Linked DNA regions of Homo sapiens: region 2 is linked to region 1. The links are contacts of gene promoters, found by promoter capture Hi-C in human tissues and cell types (Jung and others, 2019). All regions are on one chromosome and are shown on one strand. Each heading gives the region's core, a stretch centred on a gene start or on the middle of the fragment in contact. The rest is flanking DNA. Distances are from core to core; before and after follow the strand shown. Region 1 holds the start of FABP2 (fatty acid binding protein 2). Region 2 overlaps LINC01061 (long intergenic non-protein coding RNA 1061).

The links. Contacts are between HindIII fragments. The study calls those that stand out against the background at their distance.
Region 2: a fragment that was not itself captured here is called in contact with the fragment with the promoter of FABP2 in region 1 in 2 of the 25 tissues and cell types used here (H1 embryonic stem cells and dorsolateral prefrontal cortex).

What each region holds. Positions count from the first base shown.
Region 1 is chr4:119,318,787-119,324,935 of GRCh38, forward strand. FABP2 (fatty acid binding protein 2) reads right to left here and starts at 3,352. Exons shown (of 4, transcript NM_000134.4): 1 at 3,250-3,352; 2 at 1,884-2,056; 3 at 750-857; 4 at 1-305. The coding sequence starts at 3,316. The coding sequence ends at 255. The HindIII fragment of the contact is 4,027 bases long and covers 2,729-6,149 here.
Region 2 is chr4:119,402,135-119,408,283 of GRCh38, forward strand. LINC01061 (long intergenic non-protein coding RNA 1061) reads right to left here. Exons shown (of 3, transcript NR_037596.1): 3 at 3,389-6,149. It also overlaps the pseudogene LOC100131884. Among named protein-coding and RNA genes, the nearest start is that of LINC01061, 5.5 kb to the right of the region's middle. The HindIII fragment of the contact is 5,109 bases long and covers 476-5,584 here.

The DNA of each region.
Region 1 (6,149 bases), core at 2,102-4,601:
GACGCAATATTTATTTTTGTTTTTTAAAATGTCACAAATTCTTTTAGTAAATATATATCTTAGAGAATATAAAACAAATTAAATCCTAATTAGCTTTTACTTCTTTTGCTTTGGCATGAATGGAAATATACCAATGTTTATAAAAGGACCAATCAATCAGTAACCTTATACTTGATGGGGTGAAATAAATAGTTCTGGTACAATATAGATCTTCTGTCCAATTTGTATTTTGGACTGTGCGCCAAGAATAATGCTCAATCCTTTTTAAAGATCCTTTTGGCTTCTACTCCTTCATATACATAAGTCTGAAAGGTGTTAACAAACAGAAGAATTTATCTTTAAGGTTTACATCTAAGTTAAGAAAAAGTAGTATTATAGTTTTATACTATATGAGTTTATACTATTTTTATATTATATATTCATATATATTATATGAGTATGAGTTTATACAATTTTTTCTTGTACTTGATAGCAAGATTTATACAGATATGGGATACAGCCATTTTAAAACACATGTTGGTTTGTAGTCATTTATATTTTCAGTTAAAATAGGCATTGATTATTTGACATATATAAGTTGTCTTTAGTAAATAGGCATCAGAAAATAGCTATACAATATTTTTAAAATCAGTAAGATTTATGAGAAAAGAAGTAGTCAGTTTACTGAAGATCTGGCTCAGCAGTGACAAAAATTATTGTTTTGTAGTAATTTTTGCCTTTTGAAAATAGCTATAAATTTGACAACTCACCTGGACTAGTTCATCACCTATAATTTCTCGGACAGTATTCAGTTCGTTTCCATTGTCTGTCCGTTTGAATTTTCCAATAAGTTTATTTCCCTCAAGGCTCCAGGTCCCCTACATAATAATAATAATAATAATAATAATAATAATGGCATTTATTAGGGTCTTACACATGTCAGGCACTGTTCTGAGTTCTGTAGACACACTTTTTCATTTAATCTTCATGGTGACCCTATGAAACTGATACTATTATCTCTACTTTGCAGAAGAGGAGACTGTAAAATGGCACAGTGATTCACCTAAAGTCACAGAGTGAGGATTGAACCTAGGCCATTGGGCTACAGAGTATGTGTTGATAACCATTATGCTTGTTCTCTTCAATAATTTCCATACGCTGAATTTTAAGGCAGATGAGCAGCACTTCTTTCTGAATCTTTCATGTTACGTGTCCAGAAATATAGTCATGGTTAAAATTAGTTTCATGGAGATGTTAACAACTCTGTGCTTGTTTTAATTTGTGTGATTGTGGTACTAATTAAAGAAAGACATAACTTATGATAAAACATTCAGTAGTTAAATTGTCATTACAAACATGTAATTTAAATAGAAAAATGTTGAGGCTAAAAAAAGTTTTTAAAAAATTTGTTGAAAATGATGACTTCCTAAAATGTGTTATCTTAAACATGAAAAGGTACACTCCCAATGACCTACAATACATCAAATCTTTCCATTTGGTAACTCACTCATTTGTTCATCTATTCATTTCTTTTATTATTTCAACATGTTAAATTGCTATTACAGTTAAGTTACATATTAACTCTAAAGGCTTCTTTTGCTGTACTGTTTAAAAACACAGTTTTAAATTTCTTTATGAATAGGTCTATATTCAGTCATTCAAAAGATAGTTTTCTAATTCTTACTGTTCAATTCAGATTCTTCACAGATGCGTATAAAAATAAAAACATATTTAAATATCCTGCCAATTTGTGCAATATATAATGTAGACAAACTTCATTGGCTTCTTCAGTTAGTGAAGGAGACCTGCATTAATTAAACCATCCAATGAAATAGAGCAGAAATCATTTTAATATTGGGTAGAAAAATCAAGAATGCATTGCTCATAAAAAAAAAAATTCTTACCCTGAGTTCAGTTCCGTCTGCTAGATTGTAATTAAAGGTGACACCAAGTTCAAAAACAACTTCAATGTTTCGAAAAGTGCTTGATTCTTTGACTGTGAATTTATTTCCTTCTTGTGTAATTGTCAGCTTCAAATTGTCATGAGCTGCAAGCTTCCTTTTCACTATATTAACACCTGTAAAAGGTAAGACAATGGAGAAAATAAAGTCAAATCCCATAGGAAGTGTTTATTTTTCCAAGTTATGTTTTGTTTGTTTATTTTGAGGGTGGGAAGAAAACTCGGTAGCATTGCCTTTGCACAAGAACATTCAGATTGCTTCTACAGAAGTTCAGGTTCAATCAGATCAAGAGAACTGATTAAAGTTGTTTTTCCATAACTTGAGAAAAATTAAGTAGAGTACAGAATTATAGAATCTTAGAGCTGAGCAACCTTAATAAGATTAACAAACTGTTCATTTCAGTGTTAAGTAAATCAAATTCTAGAAATATCAAATGAAGGATTAAAATGTATATTCATATATTTATAAGGAAGCACATCTTTAATTCCACATATACAGTATTCTTTTTTCTTAAATGCCCCTTTGTTTTTCTTAGTGGCTTTAACATTTTGAACTTTATAGTTCTATTTGCTTCTTGTGGCATTTCTTTCTGACACAAAAATGAGAAAATTAGCAAATATTAAGCCAAAATCACTATAAGAATCTACAACTTTTATAAATTTAAACTTAGAGTTCCTAAACTGTAAGCTATAATTGATGCAGATTTTTCTTTTAGGGGAATGACACAAATTTGTTTGCCTATCTTGTATAGTATATGGGCTGCCAGAGTATTGGTATCAAATTATAAATCAGTTAAATTAAACGCCCTGGAGAAAACTACACAGCTTCTCAAGATTATTCCAAAACTTTTTTAAGTTAGAAGAAATCAGAATTAAATCTAACTTATTCAGCGCTATAAATTTTAAGAGAACCTTTTCCATTACTTTCTTATATGGTCTTTGTTTTTCCATCTCCTAGAATTTAACATTTTCAGATCTGGAAGTTATCATTACACGCTGCCATTTTCTTACTGTAAACAACAAAAAAAGTCATTTTTCAGTTAAAGAGGGAAGGAAACATTTCTGGATCTTTTTGGTGTGTTTCAGAGAACAGCACTCAAAGAATCTTTTCTTCCATTAGTGAGATAGTGGATTCTTCCTAATGTAAGAAGGGAGAATATGGTTTCCCTCCTCTGAACATCTTCTGGATCCTCTCTACCACATCAGGAGCTATCTGTAAGCTATCTGTAATCTCCTAGAGATTTAGGAGTTAGAAAGAAAAATGTTTGTAAGAAAGCAAAGAATGAGCCACAAAGAAATAAAGTCTTTACCCATTTTTTCCATGAACTTGTCATAGTTTTCACTCCGGTCTACCTTCCAAGTGCTGTCAAACGCCATGATTTCAGTTGAGTCAGCCTCTAGGCAGCTAGAGATTCAGGTCTGTCCTTGGGCGAGAATTTATTATATTTCTTATCTTAGAACCAACTTCATACTGTGATGTGGAAGCTTAAAGTTCAGGAAATCACCTAACTATGTCAAGCAATTAATTAATTCTTATTAATTAATTCTTAATTCTCGTTCTGTACATTCCTGAGATCTTCTGAAATTCAACTGAATTAAAACATGAGAAGCATACCTATTCTGTCTTAAATTACAGTTTGTGGGCATACTTATTTCAAGAATTAGAATGCATGCCGTCTGAAGATTGTTTTTCTAAGTTCAAAGTGCAGACTATGTTGGAGGTAATATAATTTATAGCATATATCAAATAACATCTGGGAAATGAGACCATGACCTTTCCCTTTTTCACAACAGCAATTATCTTGTAAAGTAAGACTTTATGATGAAATACAGTTGAAAAGTTAAAGTTAATAAGATTCGTTTTCTAATATGTCTTTTTGCATTGTGTTTAGCATTGCCAGGAGTTTGGATAAATATCCTGGCACTTTGTAGGGTGCATGACACACAATAAGTGCTCATTGATTTTTGTCTTGATCCTGAATGGTGATAGGCCACTGAGCAAAAATTCAAGAGGTACAAATGAGGCTGGATGGTGTAAAAACTTGCATAAAAGAAAGAATGAGCTTTAAACATCTGCCATGTGCAGAGAGAACAAAATCCAGTTTTAGCTGTGCCATTAATTAAAACCACTCCTTCATTTTACTCTCAATGCCTCTCATCCCCAAACCCAGTAGAGTCAGAAGCCACAGCTCAATTATGTATGTAGGGTCAGGGTATAGAGGGTAGCTAGAAAGGTACAAAGAAAAGGTCACCATATCTCTCCTTTCCCTACTTCAGGCTGCCAGCCAGGAACAGGCCAAGCTTGGGGAGGAAACTTGGTGTGAAGTAAAGAGTTTTAATTACTAGTCTTAAGATGTTTATTACTAAAATGAGTCTATTATTGTGACTGAATGTGACCAGATAACATCTTATTAACTAAGGGTCAGGAAAGAAGCTCTAGGGCTTGCCCAAGATATTACTTAGGGTCAAGGGAAGATAAATCTAACAGATTTGAACAGAACTTTGGGGAACAGAATCCCAGTTTTTAAATTTTGATATTATTTTATATTTTGATTTTTAAAAATCTTTTAAACATGTTAGATATTGTTTGATTTTTTATTTCGAGTTGCCCACTTTTTATTTTATTAAGTAAGCACTTTAAAAAGCAAACTATTTTCTACTAGCTCTATTATTTCATTAAAAAAGAAAAAGAGGCCGGGCGCGGTGGCTCGCGCCTGTAATCCCAGCACTTTGGGAGGCCGAGGCGGGCGGATCACGAGGTCAGGAGATCGAGACCATCCTGGCTAACACGGTGAAACCCCGTCTCTACTAAAAATGCAAAAAAAATTAGCCGGGCGTGGTGGTGGGCGCCTGTAGTCCCAGCTGCTCGGGAGGCTGAGGCAGGAGAATGGCGTGAACCCGGGAGGCGGAGCTTGCAGTGAGCCGAGATCGTGCCACTGCACTCCAGCCTGGGCGACAGAGCGAGACTCCGTCTCAAAAAACAAAAAAACAAAAAAACAAAAAAACAAAAAACAAAAAAAAACAAAAAAGAAAAAGAGTTGCCTGGTGCAGTGGTTCTTGCCTGTAATCCCAGCTATTAGAGAGGCTGAGGCAGGAGAATCACTTCAGGCCAGGAGTTCGAAACCAGCAGTTTGAGGCCAGCCTAAGCAACATAGGGAGAGCCTGGCTGTAACAATTATAATAAAATAAATTAGCCAGGTGTAATGGCACATGCCTGTAGTCCCAGCTACTTGGGAGGCTAAGGCGGGAAGATCTCTTGATCCCAGGAGTTGGAGATTGCAATGAGTTGTGATCATGCCAGTACACTCCAGCCTGGGCAACAGAGAGATCCCATCTCTAAAAAATAAATAATTTTTTAAATGTCAAAAAAGGAAAGAAAACACATATACACACTCATGAGTTGGGGACAAAGGTCATAATGGGAAGTCCTTTACATTCATAATTTAGCTTTACTTTCAAAATTAGGTACATTGTGATTTTTTAATCTTTTTTCAAAGAATTAAAACTGTATCACTTGGGAGCTATCAACCTAATACACTTTCTTTCTTTTTTTATTACACTTTAAGTTTTAGGGCACATGTGCACAACGTGCAGGTTTGTTACATATGTACACATGTGCCATGTTGGTGTGCTGCACCCATTAACTCGTCATTTAACATTAGGTATACCTCCTAATGCTATCCCTACCCCCTCCCCCCACCCCATAACAGGCCCCGGTGTGTGATGTTCCCCTTCCTGTGTCTAAGTGTTCTCATTGTTCAATTCCCACCTATAAGTGAGAACATGCGGTCTTTGGTTTTTTGTCCTTGCGATAGTTTGCTGAGAATGATGGCTTCCAGCTTCATCCATGTCCCTACAAAGGACATGGACTCATCATTTTTTATGGCTGCATAGTATTCCATGGTGTATATGTGCCACATTTTCTTAATCCAGTCTATCATTGTTGGACATTTGGGTTGGTTCCAAGTCTTTGCTATTGTGAATAGTGCCCCTATAAACATATGTGTGCATGTGTCTTTATAGCAGCATGTTTTATAATCCTTTGGTTATATACCCAGTAATGGGATGGCTGGGTCAAATGGTATTTCTAGTTCTAGATCCCTGAGGAATCGCCACACTGACTTCCACAAGGGTTGAACTAGTTTACAGTCCCCTCAACAGTGTAAAAGTGTTCCTATTTCTCCACATCCTCTCCAGCACCTGTTGTTTC
Region 2 (6,149 bases), core at 1,780-4,279, 83 kb after region 1:
GAAGGCAGGCAGGACCATAGTAATACCTAGTTTTAGGGAGGTAAAGGAGGCAGATTCAGTGGTCAGAAAGGTAGAAAAATATATAGAATCCTAACCAGTAGAGAAGGCCATTAAGCTTAAAATCAGCAGAGAGGTTGAGAAGGACTAATGCCAAGAAAAAGACTTCCAAAGAACTATTTCAAGGTAAAATTGAGCCAGAGGCTATGCCATAACATAAATATGTGAGTGTGCATCAGCACGCAGAGGCTTCAGAATTGAGATCTGCTCTTGAGAAGTCTGGTGTGGAGGCTGACAAGGTAAGAGAGCGGCCAAACGTAGGGATGTTAACCCAGTGATCTTTCTTTTTTTAGCAGAGCAGGTATTTGTCCACTGAAGTCAAGACAGTGACATGCATTGACTGTCTATAGCAACACTTCCTTTCTCACTGGGGAAGGAAAGTAGTTGAATCTAGTTGCTTGTTTTGTTTTTATTTTTGTTTTTTAATTTTCATCACCAGTGTTTTCAAATGGTTATAAACTTTTAAAAATATTTGTGGTAAAGAACATATAACATGAAATTTACCACCTTAGCCATTTTAAGTGTTCCACTCAGTAGTGTCATGTGTAAGTACTTGCTTTATTGTGAAACAGATCTCTAGAACGTCTTCATTTTGCAAAACTGAAACTCTGTACCTTTTAAACAACTTGTCTTTTCCACTTTCCACTGTCCCTGGCAAGTATTATTATACTTCCTGTTTCTATAAATTTGACTCCTTTAGATACCTCATATTAGTGGAATCATACAGTATTTTTTTATTTTTGTGACTGGCTCACTACACTTAGCATAATGTTCTCAAGCTTCAACCATGTTGCATTGTGACAGGATTTCCTTCCTTTTTAAGGAATTGTATGTATATATAGTGTATGTATATACCAATTTCATTTATCCATTCATTAATCCAGCACATGGCCAGTGAGGACATAGCGAATGACGAGGAGCACATGGTCATCCATGAGGAGGAGGGGGTGATGATGTCATTGCTGATGACGGCTTTAGCACCACTGACACTGATCTCAAGTTCAAGGAGTGGGTGACCGACTGAGAGTGGGGACAGCTCTGGGGAGGAGCCAGAGCGCAACAAGGGCTTTCATGGGAAGGTATTTGCACCTGTCATTCCTTCCTCCTTTACTCCTGCCGCCCCTTGCTGAATCCTGAGCCCCCAGGGTCCCCCGATCCACCTGCAGTTTTTGGCAAAGTCTATGGTCCCACCCCGTCCTTCTCCTACACATTCTCGGATGCTTCCTCCTCAACCTTGGCACCCACCTCCTTCTTACTGGGCCCAGGAGCCTTCAAAGCCCAGGAGTCTGGTCAGGGCAGCAGAGCGGGCCCCCTACGGCCCCTACCCCTGGGGATGGGGGCCCAGGGACGCCTTCCAAGGTGACCTGTTTCCTCCCAATGGATCCTGCCACCTTCTGGTGCAAGAGACCTGAAAGTGTGGGCGACCTGGAGCTACCAGGCCCCTCAGTCATTGTGGTCCCTCCCAACACTAAGGCTTTCCTAGGCAGGAGCTGGGCTGAGCCACCCAGGGGGCAGAGCCTGAAGAGGAGAAACTGGGCTTTGGGGGTTGGGGCAGAGGGAACCCCACGGACATGGATCCCGCACTGGCGGACCCCACCACACCCAAATGCAAGATGAGAAGATGCTCCAGCTGCAGCCCAAAGCCCAACACCCCCAAGTGTGCCATGTGTGATGGGGACAGCTTCCCCTTTGCCTGTACAGGTGGAGAAGCCGAGGACGGGCTCAGGGAACCGGAGACGGAGAAGGCGCTGTCCTCTTCACTGCACGCGCCCTGGACCAGTGCTGGCCTTGATCATGCAGCTCTTCCAGGCCCACTGCTTCTTCCTGTCCACTAGGCCACAGCTGCCCTCCAGGCCCACTATGCACACATCTTCCCCTCCAAGGTTTGTTCTGCCCCTGCCCTGACTCCCAGCCCTGCGGGGGTCCTGACCCCACCTCACCTGGCTCAGACTCTGATGCTGCCCTGGCTGCCCCACCACTGCCTCTGCCCGAGAGTCACGTGAGGCTGAGAGTAGGGGCAGGGGCAGCAGTGGTGCCAGTTGGGGGGCGGTCCAGTGGGAGGAGCCTCAGCCTCGTGGGCTGTTCCGTGGGACTGATGACTGCATGATCTTCTGGGCACCTCACGGATCTTCAACTGCAGGTGAAACGGATGCTGGTGGTGGGTGCAGGGCCACTGGGAGCCGCTGCATGGTCCCAGAGGCTGGACTGGGGCAGGTGCCAACTGAAGCTGCTGGGGCAGCATGGGCAGGATGTTCTGCACACAAACCTTGGAGAAGAAAATGTGTGCATAGCGGGTCCACTGCTGCTGCCCCTGCCCTGACTCCCAGCCCTGCCTGACCCCACCTCACCCTGCTCAGGCTCTGGTGCAACTCTGGGTGCCTTGCCCCTGCCTCTGCCCCAGAGTTGGGGCCTCGACAGCCTGGCTGGAAGGGGACACCCCAGCCCTGCCTCAACACCTGGGTCCCTCCATAACTACCACAGGCAGATGGGCGACCCCAAAGAAGATCCCAGGACTCACAGTACCCCCTGAGAACATGGACAGTATGTGGGGGTAGCCATGGAGGTCAGGATGGTTATCTTCTCCCGGGTAAAGCCATTTAATCCTTTCAGTTTGGGATGGAATAAGGCCTGCTTTTTTTAATTTTTTTTTGAGACGGAGTCTTGCTCTGTCGCCCAGGCTGGAGTGCAGTGGTGCGATCTTGGCTCACTGCAACCTTTTCCTGCCTGGTTCACGCAATTCTCCTGCCTCAGCCTTCCGGGTAGCTGAGATTACAGGTACACGCTACCACGTCCGGCTAATTTTTGTATTTTTAGTACAGACGGGGCTTCACCATCTTGGCCAGGCTGATTTCGATCTCCTGACATCGTGATCCGCCTGCCTCCACCTCCCAAAGTGCTGGGATTACAGGTGTGAGCCACCAGGCCTGGCCAAGGCCTGCTCCTCTTATATATACCCACTATCCCTGCAGCTGTACCGGGGGAAAGCTTGGCAGTTTCCCTCCTCCGAGCCCCTGTACATATCATGAAGTGTGGGACCTTCAGAGCTTTTCACTTTTCGGAAAATAGCTCCTGCTGGGGCTACAGGATGGAGTGTGAAGAGGGCCTTGGGCCACAGGGAGGTGCCTGTCGACTATGGGGAGTTCATGCACCCCTTCTTTCCCCAGAGGGGCTGGACTCAGGTGAGTATGGGGGTGGAAGCTCCTGCACTTCGACACAGGCAGCGGGAGGGTTTTCTCCCCATTCCCTCTGCTATCCCAACTTGAGTTGTACTTTTTAAGAAAGTGATTCACCCTGCCTTTGCCCCCTTCCCCAGAACAGAACACGTTGATCACGGGGATATTTTTTATTGTGCCAGAAAGTTGCCATGACCGTCATTAAACCTGTTTAACACCAAATAATAAGGAAAATAAAATAAAAAATTCGGGCTTGGTGCAGAAACTCACTCCAAATAAATTACCTACCAAAATATTTATATAATGATGGAAATATTCCAAAATTCCATATTTTGGGATTTATACACAAAAGATAAAAAAATTAGAGTCCAAGAGGCTGCCAGAAGTGAAAAACGGGGCCTGGAAAGGCCGTTGTGAGGAATAAGCTGGGCCTAAAGAGGCCACTGGCAGGCGGGAGCTGGGCCTGCAGAAGCGGCCGAAAGGCAGGAGCTTTGGACTGGGGAGGCCGCAGTGAGGCGAGAGCTAGCTGGGCGTGGAGAGTCCGCTGTGAGGCCGAGGCCGAGGCCGGGCCCGTGCAGGCCTTCGGGAGGCAGGAGGCCGGGACTGCAAAGGCCGACTGGAGGTCAAGTTCTGGGCCTGAAGAGGCTGCCAAAAGTCAAAAGCGGGACCTGGGAAGGCCGCTGAGAGCCATGAGCTGGGCTGGGCTGAAAGAGGCCACTGGGAGGCAGGAGGAGCTGGGCCTGGAGAGGCTGACTCGAGGAAGTTTTGCACCTGGAGAGGCCGCCGAGAGGACGGAGCTGGGCCCGGGGAGGCCGACTTGCTGCTCTTCCAGGCCCAATTCCAGGCCGACTTGAGGACGACTTGGGCCTGCAGAGGCCGCCGGGAGGCCCAAGCTGGGCCTAGAGGAGCCCACCGACCGGAGGCCGTTTGGGGCCTGCAGATGCCATCGGAGGGCAGGAGCTGAGCCTGGAGAGGCCACCGTGAGGCCTGACCTGGGCCTGGGGAGCTTGGCTTCAGGAAGCTGTGGGCCGACCAAGGCCGCCAGGAGATGGGTAGGCACTGAGTCCAAAGAGGTTGTTGAGAGGCAGGAGTCGGGCCTGGAGACGCAACCAGGAAGAAGAGCTGGGCCCAGAGAGGACACCCGGAGGGTGCAAGTGGGTCTGGAGAGGCCGACTTGAGGAGGTTCTGGGCCCGGAGAGGCCGCCGGAAGGGAAAAACTGGGCCTGGAAAGGCCGTTGTGAGGAATGAGCCCCATGGGCCTGAAGAGGCCACTGGCAGGCGGGAGCTGGGCCTGCCGAAGCGGCCGAGAGGCAGGAGCTTTGGACTTGGGAGGCTGCAGTGAGGCGAGAGCTAGCTGGGCGTGGAGAGTCTGCTGTGAGGCAGAGGCTGGGCCTGTGCAGGCCTTCGGGAGGCAGGAGGCCAGGCCTTGTCGAGGCCTGCAGAGGCCACCGAAAGTCAAAAGCGGGGCCTGGGAAGGCCGCTGGGAGGCATGAGCTGGGCTGGGCCGAAAGAGGCCACTGGGAGGCAGGAGGAGCTGGGCCTGGAGAGGCTGACTCGAGGAACTTTTGCACCCGGAGAGGCCGCCGAGAGGCCGGAGCTGGGCCTGGGGAAGCCGACTTGAGAACGACTTGGGCCTGCAGAGGCCACCGGGAGGCAGGAGCTGGCCCTGGACAGACTGACTTGACGACAGTCTGGGCCTGCAGAGGCCGCCGAGAGGAAGAGCTGGGCCTGGAGAGGCCGACTGGAGGAAGTCCAGGGCCTGGAGAGGATGCAAAGCAGCAAACACTAGGCCTGGAAAGGCTGCCCTGAGGCATGGGCTTGGCCTACAGAGGCCACTGGCAGGAGCTGGGCCCGCAGAGGCTCCCGAGAGGGAGGAGCATTGCCCCAGGAGGCCACGGTGAGGAAGAGGTGGGCCTGGAGAGCCCACTGTGAGGTAGAGGCCGGGCCTGTAGAGGCCGCCGACAGGCAGGGAATGGGCCTGTTGAGGCCACGAGAGGCATAAGCTGGGCCTCAACAGGCCAGTGTGAGGCAGGAGCTGACACTTGGGCAGGTTGCAAGAGGCATGAGTTGGGCCGAAAGAGGCCACCGTGAGGGAGGAGCTGAGCCTGTACAAGCTGCCAAAAGGCAGGAGCAGCTTTGGACTGGAGAGGCCGCAGACAGGGAAGAGCTGGGTGTGGAGAGTCTGCTGTGAGGCAGAGGCTGGGCCTGTACATGCCCTCGGGAAGCAGGAGGCTGGGCCTGGAGAGGCCGACTTGAGAAAGTTTTGCTCCTGGAGAGGCCACTCAGAGGCAAGAGCTGGGTGTGAAGAGGCTGACTTGAGGTCGATTTTGGCCTGTAGAAGCCACTGGTAGCTAGGAGTTGGCCCTGGAGAGGCTGACCTGAGGACAGTTTTGGCCTGTAGAGGCCACTGGGAGGGAGAGCTTGGTCTGGAGAGGCCAAGTGGAGTAAGTTCAGGGCTTGGAGAGGATGCACAAAAGGAAACGCTCAGCCTGGAAAGTGTGCTGTGAGGCATTAGCTTGGCCTACACAGCACTTGGAGGCAGGAGCTGGGCCTGCAGAGGGTGACTTCAGGACGATTTTGGCCTGCAGAAGCCTTTGGGAGGAAGAGCTTGGCCTGGACCGGCTGACTGGAGGAAGTTTTGGGACTGGAGTATGCATCAAAAAGCAAAAGTTAGGCTAGGAAAGGCCACTTTGCGGCATGATCTTGGCCTACAAAGGCAACTGTGAGGCAGGAGCTGGGCCTGTAGAGGCTGCCGAAAGGCAGGAGCTTGGCCTCAGGAGGCTATGATCAGGCAAGTGGTGGGCCTGGAGGGTCTACTGTGTGGTAAGAGTCTGGGCCTGTGTAGGCCGACATGAGGCAGGAGCTGAGTTAGGAGAGGCCAACTTTTGGAGAATTTGGGCCTGCAGAGGCTAACAGGAG